Linked DNA regions of Homo sapiens: region 2 is linked to region 1. The links are contacts of gene promoters, found by promoter capture Hi-C in blood cells and fetal thymus (Javierre and others, 2016). All regions are on one chromosome and are shown on one strand. Each heading gives the region's core, a stretch centred on a gene start or on the middle of the fragment in contact. The rest is flanking DNA. Distances are from core to core; before and after follow the strand shown. Region 1 holds the start of SLC4A5 (solute carrier family 4 member 5). Region 2 overlaps SLC4A5 (solute carrier family 4 member 5).

The links. The method cuts DNA at HindIII sites, captures the fragments that hold promoters and counts their contacts. A CHiCAGO score of 5 or more calls a contact.
Region 2: a fragment that was not itself captured here is called in contact with the fragment with the promoter of SLC4A5 in region 1 in 5 of 17 cell types (naive CD4 T cells, naive CD8 T cells, total CD4 T cells and 2 more); the score reaches 6.4 in naive CD4 T cells.

What each region holds. Positions count from the first base shown.
Region 1 is chr2:74,340,913-74,345,506 of GRCh38, reverse strand. It overlaps SLC4A5 (solute carrier family 4 member 5), which reads left to right and starts at 2,091. Exons shown (of 31, transcript NM_133478.3): 1 at 2,091-2,151; 2 at 2,973-3,049. The HindIII fragment of the contact is 2,074 bases long and covers 620-2,693 here.
Region 2 is chr2:74,226,289-74,230,882 of GRCh38, reverse strand. SLC4A5 (solute carrier family 4 member 5) reads left to right here. Exons shown (of 31, transcript NM_133478.3): 26 at 3,005-3,073; 27 at 3,753-3,926. Among named protein-coding and RNA genes, the nearest start is that of MTHFD2, 30 kb to the right of the region's middle. RefSeq lists an enhancer at 2,281-2,781. The HindIII fragment of the contact is 4,919 bases long and covers 1-4,408 here.

The DNA.
Region 1 (4,594 bases), core at 842-3,341:
TCCTTCCTCCTTCCTCCATTAGGAGGATTCCTGAGCCTGCAAACCTGTTCCCTTTGTGCATCCTGGAGGGACAGCCCCTGCCCCATACCTTCCAATACCCTCACCAAACCAGATGAAGCTCACCCTCAAATTCCTGTGTGAAGTGAGAGACAAAAAAACCCCAAACCTGAAGTGTCTGAAATAAATGTCCAAATTATTTGAACAAAACCTGGGTAGGTAGAAACCAAAGGGTTTCACTTGAATGCTTGGCAGTAACGTCTCAACTGGTCTTTCCACCTGTGCTACAATCCACTGTGAAGTCCATTATTCCATTCTTGTACCAAGTCCCCTTCCACATTCCTTTCACTTCAGACATGTTTGCTGATGTTTACACCTCTCCATAGACTACCCAGCCTATCGTCGCATGCCCAAAGCTTTATTTCCCCAAACCTGCCCTGTGCCAGGGAAACTGCTCTCCAGTTCTCAGGATATTTATGCTATGTTCTCCCACCTCTTATGTCTATATTTTTTGTGGCTTCTTCCCTCTGCCTCAGATACCCCTTGGTAGTTCTACTGTTCTAAATCCTACCCCTATCCTATCCCTTCACTGCATCTCCAAGGCCATTTTCTCCACAAAGCTTTTCTTTAACACATGGGGCTGGTAGGTAAGCCATGAACATTTGTGGAACAAGGTAATCCTCCAAACAAGGGTGATTTTTCTTTCACTGAACCCTTCCCTCCCTTTGTGCTTCTTTTTGGAGCCTCACACTCTTCTGAATTTGTTGAATCCCCAACCAGCTGGAAATTCCCTAAGGCCCGAAACTGTTTCTGGCCTAGGCTGTGCTGATCTTCCTGGGACTAAGGGGTTTCCTGGGTCACAGATCTTCTGTGCTAAAACCAGGAAAGCCTCTGGTGACCCAGCATGTGTTGATCTCCCTAGTCTTGCCTGTCTTTGATTCCATGGATTATTAACAGAAACTATAATGTTGGGTTAATGTGTTGGCTTGGGCATGGCCTCCGAAACATGTTTTTTACATGTCTGCCACCAGCAGGCTCTAGATCCAGGAATGAGGCTTTTCCACTAAGGGAAAACTCCACGTGATCTAGGAAGAAAGTGAGGATATCCAACCAGATGATAAATTTCCTATCTGAAAGAGAAGGTCAACCCTGAAATAAGGAGGCTGAAGACCCTTAGAGAAGCCACAGAAGAGACTGGAAGAAGAGGGGTAGAGTTGCTTTTTTAATGGGGCTTCCAGCTCCTACTTTTCTTCCTGTCTGTAAGTCTCTGAGCTTCTGTTCCAGCTCTGTAAGGTTGGGGACGAGAATGCTCTCCCCACTGGACTGTTGAGAGTTCAATGAGGGGAAATGTGTGCATATACCAGGCCCCATGCTGGGTGCCCAGAGACGCTGCGCCTTCCTGGCATGCTTCTCTTCCCCATCGCTCAGCACCGCGTCCCTCACTCCCTCCACTCCCGATTCTCACTTCCTACTCACTGGCTTCTTCCTTCCCATCTTCCTCCAAACTTCCCATTTTCCACTATGTCTCTCTCACCGTATCTTTTTCACTTAAACAAAAATGGAATTCATAAAAACAGAGGCCAAAAGTCAGGATAAACCTGGAAAAATCACCAAGTACGCAAAGTTTTTCTTGCAAGGTTTGGTTTTTTCAAATGCCTTCTTTGTTTTCCTTGCCCATATCCTTCTTCGGAGAGTCAGGATTTGGGGTTTGCAGAGCTGTGTGGCAGTGGAATGTGGAATGTTCTCCTGAATCTCAGTCCCATGAAGAAAAGAGGCAAAAGTCCTGACATCTTTCCTGAGGATTGTCTGATTTAAAAGAGCTGATTCTCCCCAGGCAAATGACTTACCTTTGTTGTGCTGGGACAAGCTGAACAGGCAAGGAATAAACCTCCCTAGAACACACTGATTAGATTAGCCAGTGAGAACCACTGAAGACGCAGACATTAGATTAAAAAACAGAAAAATGAATGTTACTTTTACAGTGGCTATGAATAGACAAAGACTTTTTGGTTTGAAAATAGTTGGTGAGGCAATAGAGGAGGGGCTATGTTAATAGCAGAGATAGAAAAAACGAGAGGTGGATGGTTCCAACTGCAAGGTCCACCCTAAAGGAATTGGAGTCAGGGCCCAGGAGCCACAGGCCACTGCACTGGGGTAAGTAGAGTGGATTTTACATAAATAAAGTTACAGAGTGGTTGTAGGTTCTGGTTTGGAGATGTGAGTGAACCAACTGAATAGAATAGGCAGATTCCCCAGCCCACCAAGAGTCAGATGAGAATTTTATTGCTTTTTGCTAAAGGCCTGTACAAGACTTAGAGCAAAGATAAGGAGTAACCTGATTGTTGAAACTAATCTATAAGTATTCCAACATAGCAAAGGACAAGTAACGGAATGACGAGGTTTTCCTGTAGTAGTGTTGCGATTTTGTTCTGCTGTGTCCCCCTACTCCAGTTTCCTCTGTGAGGGGAGCGTGTAGTGTGTGCATATCTGTGGAATGTCAGACTTCTAAAGTCAGGGGCTGAGACCTATATCTAGTTAGACCTCTGTGCATATTCTTGAGCCATGGGAGTCTCAGTGGTTGATAGTACTTCACACTTCTTCCAGTTCAATAAGGGTTACCTATGGTGTCTCCTCTGAGTCTCCTAGGAGTCCAGAAAACATGAGACTTGTATAAGAATCCACACTTCAACTAAGCTTTCTGGCCCAAAGAAGGCATTGTTACCAAGGATCTGTTTCTTGAGGTCTTTAGGGAGTGAGAGGGAAGGAACGCATGAGGAACCAGAGCTAGTCCCCATCTCTCTCCCTAGAAGTGACAGACTGCATAGCTCTTATGTATCAGGAGTCCTGGAGATCAGCTGGCTTTCCTTAAAAAAGGGTCATCCAGCCGTGATGAAATCCTGACTTAGAAACCCAGTGCCCTTAGCTTTGTGGGCTTCTGTCCCTGAGAAATGGTGTTTTACCCTCCCTCCAAGCAGGCATCCCAGGATTTGGAATTCAGCTGTGAGCTCATGAGCTGATGGATGTTTCCAGGAGTACCCTGAAGACCACCCAGGTATGCTCTCCCCACCTCCTTTATTTTGGATGGACCAGTCTAAGGAGAGTCATCTTTTCCCACACCATTGGTGGCACTCAGTGAGTGGCTTGTTGCTTGACTGAATGCCTGCCCACACCCTCTCCAGTCAAGTTTATCTTGAGTAACTAAACACTTAGCAATGGAGACACTCATACATCTCCACTGCACTAGAAGTAGGGATGGTGGCCATGCCAACAAAGGAGATAACTTTAGCACAAAGGATGTCACAAGAAACAGATAGTAGAGTGTGTTCTCCAGTGTTATCATTTCCCAAACCAGAATCAACTGGTCTTGGGTTTCCTTCCCTCATCCTTCATCTGTAGAAAACTTTGTTTCTTGAGCTACTTCAGATCTACTTCCCTATCTTAAGAGGTGGGCTATGTGCTTCTTCTGCTAATTTATTATCTCAGAAGTACATAATTTGAGCAATTTTATATAGTTTTGAGGACAGGAGCCCTGTAAGAGTCTCTTACTCAGAAATGGATTCAGCTTGGTTTGAGGTTTAATAGGTCATTGCAATGCTCCCTTCTGGTATCACAGGACATAAGCTGGGTTGGGCGGAGTCCCCCTTTTGTGTCTTAGCCTTCCTCTCCTTACTCCAGAGTAAGAGCAGCCCTGATGGAAAAACAAAATTACCATCCATGCCTACTTCATTTCTGCCCCTCTTACTCTAAGTCTGGGCAATCCGCAACATCTTTTTATATTGGACTTCCTAGATCACAGACTCTTTTTTTAGGAAGAGTCAATTCAAGCCACCCAGGACTTATGATCCCTTGCTCTGTGTCGGGCACAGTGTGAGCACAGTAATGGCATGGGCTGCCTGATGTGGGGCAGTCCCTCTTGGTCAGCAATTCACTCAGCAGCCATCTCAGTGCCCCCTGTGTAAATTTGAGGCACTTTGCCAGGCTGTGGGAACAGTGTGGGGTTAAACAGCACATGGTCCTTGCCCTCAGAAAGCTTAAAATCCAAAGTCAGATACAAGGTTATTTAACAGATGCGTGTTAATTAACAATTAAAGCTAATGTGCACTGTTCCATTGAACAAACATGACTTATGTGGTAAAATCAGAAAGCAGCTTGATTTTTGTCTCTTACTGCTCTTTTACATTTACTCTTTTTTTTTTTTTTTTTTTGAGATGGAGTCTCGCTCTGTCGCTAGGCTGGAGTGCAGTGGCACAATAATTGGCTCGCTGCAACCTCCACCTCCTGAGTTCAAGCGATTCTCCTGCCTCAGCCTCCTGAGTAGCTGTGGTTGTAGGCACCCACCACCACGCCCAACTAATTTTTGTATTTTTAGTAGAGATGGGGTTTCACCATGTTGACCAGGCTGGTCTCGAACTCCTGACCTCAGGCGATCCACCCACCTCGGCCTCCCAAAGTGTTGAGATTACAGGCGTGAGCCACTGCACCCAGCCTCTTTTACATTTATTCGGTGGGACTAGCTCTTGCTTTGCCCCTGAATGGAATTTAGGCAAGTCACAAGGTTGTTCCAGCCACCCTTGGTCTCAGTCTCATTTTAATAATT
Region 2 (4,594 bases), core at 700-3,199, 110 kb after region 1:
GTGAGCCAAGATCGCACCACTGCACTCCAGCCTGGGCAGCAAGAGCGAAACTCCGTCTCAAAACAAAAAAAAGAAAGAAAAGAAAAAGAAAGGCACAGTCTTACTAGGCCAAAGCAATGTTTCCACACTGTCACCGCCGTTTTCTGTGATACTGCAGTTTTTTATCATCACCAATCCTCTCTCCCACCCATCCCAGGGCCACTCTCACCTTTCTGGAGGATACTCTTCCCTCTGAAAGTTCTGCCAAGTTGTAGCCCTGCTTAGATCAGGAACTTCCTGAATGGGGTGTGTTTCCACATTGCCAGGGTTTGGGGCTCATGAAGTTTAAAACTTGCAGCAGGAGGCCAAACATGGTGGTACATCCCTGTAGTCCGGCTACTCAGGAGGCTGAGGCGGGAGGATCACCTGAGCTCAGGAAGTCTGGGGACTCGAGTGACTTTTTCCCACACAGCTTGAAGCTCCTCTTGCTTATGTCCCACCACAACAGCTAAGAGACTAAGTCAAGTAGGGGTACAATGGAGGCAGGCGTCCCCCACAAGGGTCTCTTTCTGGAGAGACTCCAGAAAGCAAGGTGTTCCCACCAGGCTTCCCTGCTCTCCACTCCAGCCAATCGCCCATCACTCTCCCTTTCCCTTGATCAGTGCCCACGTAAGACTTTCCTTTCTTGAATTAAGTTTACCTGTAATTGCCTCAACCTTTTGCCGATATTATTTTTCCTCTTTGAATATCTCAAAACAGCTCATGACCAGGCATGGTGGCTCATGCCTGTAATCCCAGGACTTTGGGAGGCCGAGGTGGGAGGATCACTTGAGACCAGCCTGGGCAACATAGCAAGACCCCCATCTCTACAAAAAATACAAAAATTAGCCAGGCACGATGGTACATGTGAGGCATGATCACTTGAGTCCAGGAGGTCGAGGCTGCAGTGAGCCATGATCATGCCACTGCACTCCAGCCTGGGCAACAGAGTGAGACCTCTTCTCAAAAAAAAAAAAAAAAAACCTCATTCAGAGGTGACCTTGTAAGAAACAAACGCTAAAGAATGATGATTCTGGCTGATGTATTTACAATGGAAAATATTTCTGGCTTGAGAATTGGTGCTGGGCATACCCGAGCAGTAAGTAGGAGGCTGGCATTTTTTAAGGGATATTTCCCTTGTGGGGGAAACAAATTACACACAGGAGGGCAAGCATTTTGTTTATTGAAAAATATATTTTAAATGGCCAGGGACTACTTACTTTTGTAGAGAGGGTTCTAAGGTGCCATTGTGTATGTCAATTTTGACACTGTTTAACATACAAGTATTTGCATTAAAAAGCTCGAATCAGGCTGGGTGTGGTGGCTCAAGCCTGTAATCCCAGCACTTTGGGAGGCCGAGGCAGGTGGATCACCTAAGGTCAGGAGTTCAAGACCAGCCTGGCCAACATGGTGAAACCCGAAACCCTGTGTCTACTAAAAATACAAAAATAGCCAGGTATGGTGGCACATGCCTGTAGTCCCAGCTACTCAGGAGGCTGAGACGGGAGAATTGGTTGAGCCCGGGAGGTGGAGGCTGCAGTGAGCCGAGATTGCACCACTGCACTCCAGCCTGGGCAAGACAGAGTGAGACTCCGTGCCCCCCCCAAAAAAAAAAAACACCTTCGAATCGGCCAGGCATGGTGGCCCATGTCTGTAATCCTAACACTTTGGGAGGCCGAGGTGGGAGGATCACTTGAGAACAATAGTTTGAGACCAGAATGGCCAACATATCGAGACTCTGTCTCAAGAAAAAAAAAAAAGCTCAAATCTAAGAACAGACTTCTTTAGGGGCAAAAAATTCCTCTAAAGCCCTCCTAGTGTTGGCATAGTGCTCTGTGCTCTCCGGAGTGCTCTAACATGACCACAAGGAGGAACAGCCTCTGCTCACCATGGGGAGCCACAGCTGCAGGTGAAAGAGAGAAGGTAAGGGGCAGAAACAGCTGAGAGAGACAGCGGAAGAATGCTTTGAAAGGCTGTGAAGATTTGGAATCATTCTTGTAGAGTGGGATGAATTCTATGATCCCATTTTTGAAAAAGCAAACAAATTGCCTGTGTGCAAGTTTGGAGGGAAGGATACCCGCCAAACTATTGGTGGTTAGTTGGTGATGAGTGCTGATTAGTTTACACACTTTTGTTCTGCTTCTTTTGTATGTGATTGCGTATGAGGCATGATTTCTGTTTTTTTTTGGTTTTTTTGGGGGGCGGGGGGGTTTGTTTGTTTGCTTTGTTTGGTTTTTTTGAGACAGAGTCTCTTTCGCCCAGGCTGGAGTTCAGTAGCACGATCTCAGCTCACCGCAACCTCCATCTCCCGGATTCAAGCGATTCTTCTGCCTCAGCATCCTGAGTTGCTGGGATTACAGGCATGTGCCACCACGCCTGGCTAATTTTTTTGTATTTTTAGTAGAGACGGGGTTTCACCATGTTGGCCAGGCTGGTCTCAAACTCCTGACCTCAGGTCATCCACCTGCCTTGGCCTCCCAAAGTGCTAGGACTACAGGTGTGAGCCACCACACCCGGCCGGATGCGTGATTTCTGTTAAGTGTCCCGGGTACTCGCTGCTGATGTAGATCAGCTCATTAAAAGTCCCCATGCCCCTGCAGGCTGAGCAGTTTTAGGGGACCCTCAGCTGAGGCTGGAGGTAGGAAGAAGCTGGGCAGGAATGAGGAGGGGGCAGTCTGTGGAGTCTTCTCACTTTCCAGAAGGCATTTCTTTAGCCAGACCACATGGCCTCCGCACGGTGCAGTGAGGGGCCAGGCCAGGAGAGCAGCTGCATGCTGGGCCAGCTACCCCAGCCAGAGAAGGGGCAGTACAGCCCCAGTGACCCTCATCTTCACCCCTGCCCACATCCCAGTTCTGCTGACTCTCTGTTCCCCCAAATATCCAGTTTCCTAGCTGCCTCTGTGGTCAGGAGCCACTGTCATCCAGAACAGGGTGGCCAAGGGCCGCCCCAGGCAGAGGCCGATCCAAAGCTCTGCTCTCATTTTAGTGTATCCCCCTGCCGGTGCTGTACGGAGTCTTCCTCTACATGGGCGTGGCCTCCCTGAATGGCATCCAGGTAAGGCTTTCCCTCCAGATCCCTTCATGATCTGGAGTCAACATTCCATGTCTGGTTCCATGTCACCAAGACCCCCAATTCAGTTGTCCCAATTGTCCCCAATTGTCCTAATTCAATGAAAGAATAATAGTAATAATGATACTACCACTTACTGATGCTATCAGGCAAAATAAATATGTTAGGCACTTCATAGGCCTCATATAATTGAATCTATGTAATTAGGTCCTCTGATCCCCATTTTACAGATGGGGACCGGAGGGTCAGAATTCAAAATCCAGAAGAAGCTGACTCCAGTGAGCATTTCACTGTACCTCTCTCTCTTCCCTAAGGCAGCTATGCAGAAGAAAACATTTTTGTTTTGTTCTGTATTTACTGTGAAATCCCAGAATTCTTAAACAGTTTGTGTTACAATTAACTTGCACTTTCCCTGAATATGGACAATGTCCATTTTGTGGCCAGCTCCAGGGCTCCTCCCCTCACCCAGGGCTCAGGACCCTTTCTCTAAGACCCCATTATGCATCCGCCTAGACACCTCCAGCCCCCCTCCCGTGCATCCTTAAGGCCTGAGCAGGGGGCTTCCCCTCTCTGAGACCCCACCCAGGCACCCCTTCCCCTAGTCCCAGGACCCAGCGGGCCCTCGGGGTCTGGCTGCCTGGCTGAGCCCCCGCTGTCCCCCTAGTTCTGGGAACGCTGCAAGCTCTTCCTGATGCCAGCCAAGCACCAGCCGGACCATGCCTTCCTGCGGCACGTGCCGCTGCGCCGGATCCACCTCTTCACCCTGGTGCAGATCCTCTGCCTGGCGGTGCTCTGGATCCTCAAATCCACGGTGGCTGCCATCATCTTCCCGGTCATGGTAAAGTGGGCACGGGCTTCCCCCTCCTGCCTGGCAGGTTGGCCTGGGCAACCCAGAGGTGCAGCGCAACCTCCCCTCCTGCCACCTTCTGCCTTCCTGTCAGCTGTGGCCTGGCTCCCTCGGGTCACGGAGGCTGGCACAGAATGACCTGATTTGAGTTGTGAGTCCAGGCCAGATGGTGTGGGGTGGGGCAGAGAGGAGGCGGAGGAAGGAATGTCAGAGCCGCTCAGTGAGAACCCAGGAGCCACCCTACCTCCTGGCTCCAGGGAGGGACGGAGAAAGAAAATCAGTTCAACCAGGAGACCGAGTTCCCACTGCCAAAATTCCAACCAGTCTCAGAAGTCGATGCGTACTAAATATAGATCTTTCCACCATTCAAGATAGCTAAATTTAAAAAGCTAAATAGTGAAGTAGGGGGGCAGGGGAAGAACGAGGGTCAGAGATCAAGAACAACAAAACCCAATGATGGTATATATAAAGCTTGAGCAAGGGAAAGGTTACAGGTCTTTCACTATTCTTGCAAATATTGTATAAGTTTGAAATTACTCCAAAATAAGAAGTGAAAAGAATGCAAAGCCAACAACATGTTGCATCTGGCCCCCTAGATAACTCACCGAGGGCAGTGACCCAGGCCCTTGCCAGGAGCCTGGAGTGTGTCAGCAAATGCC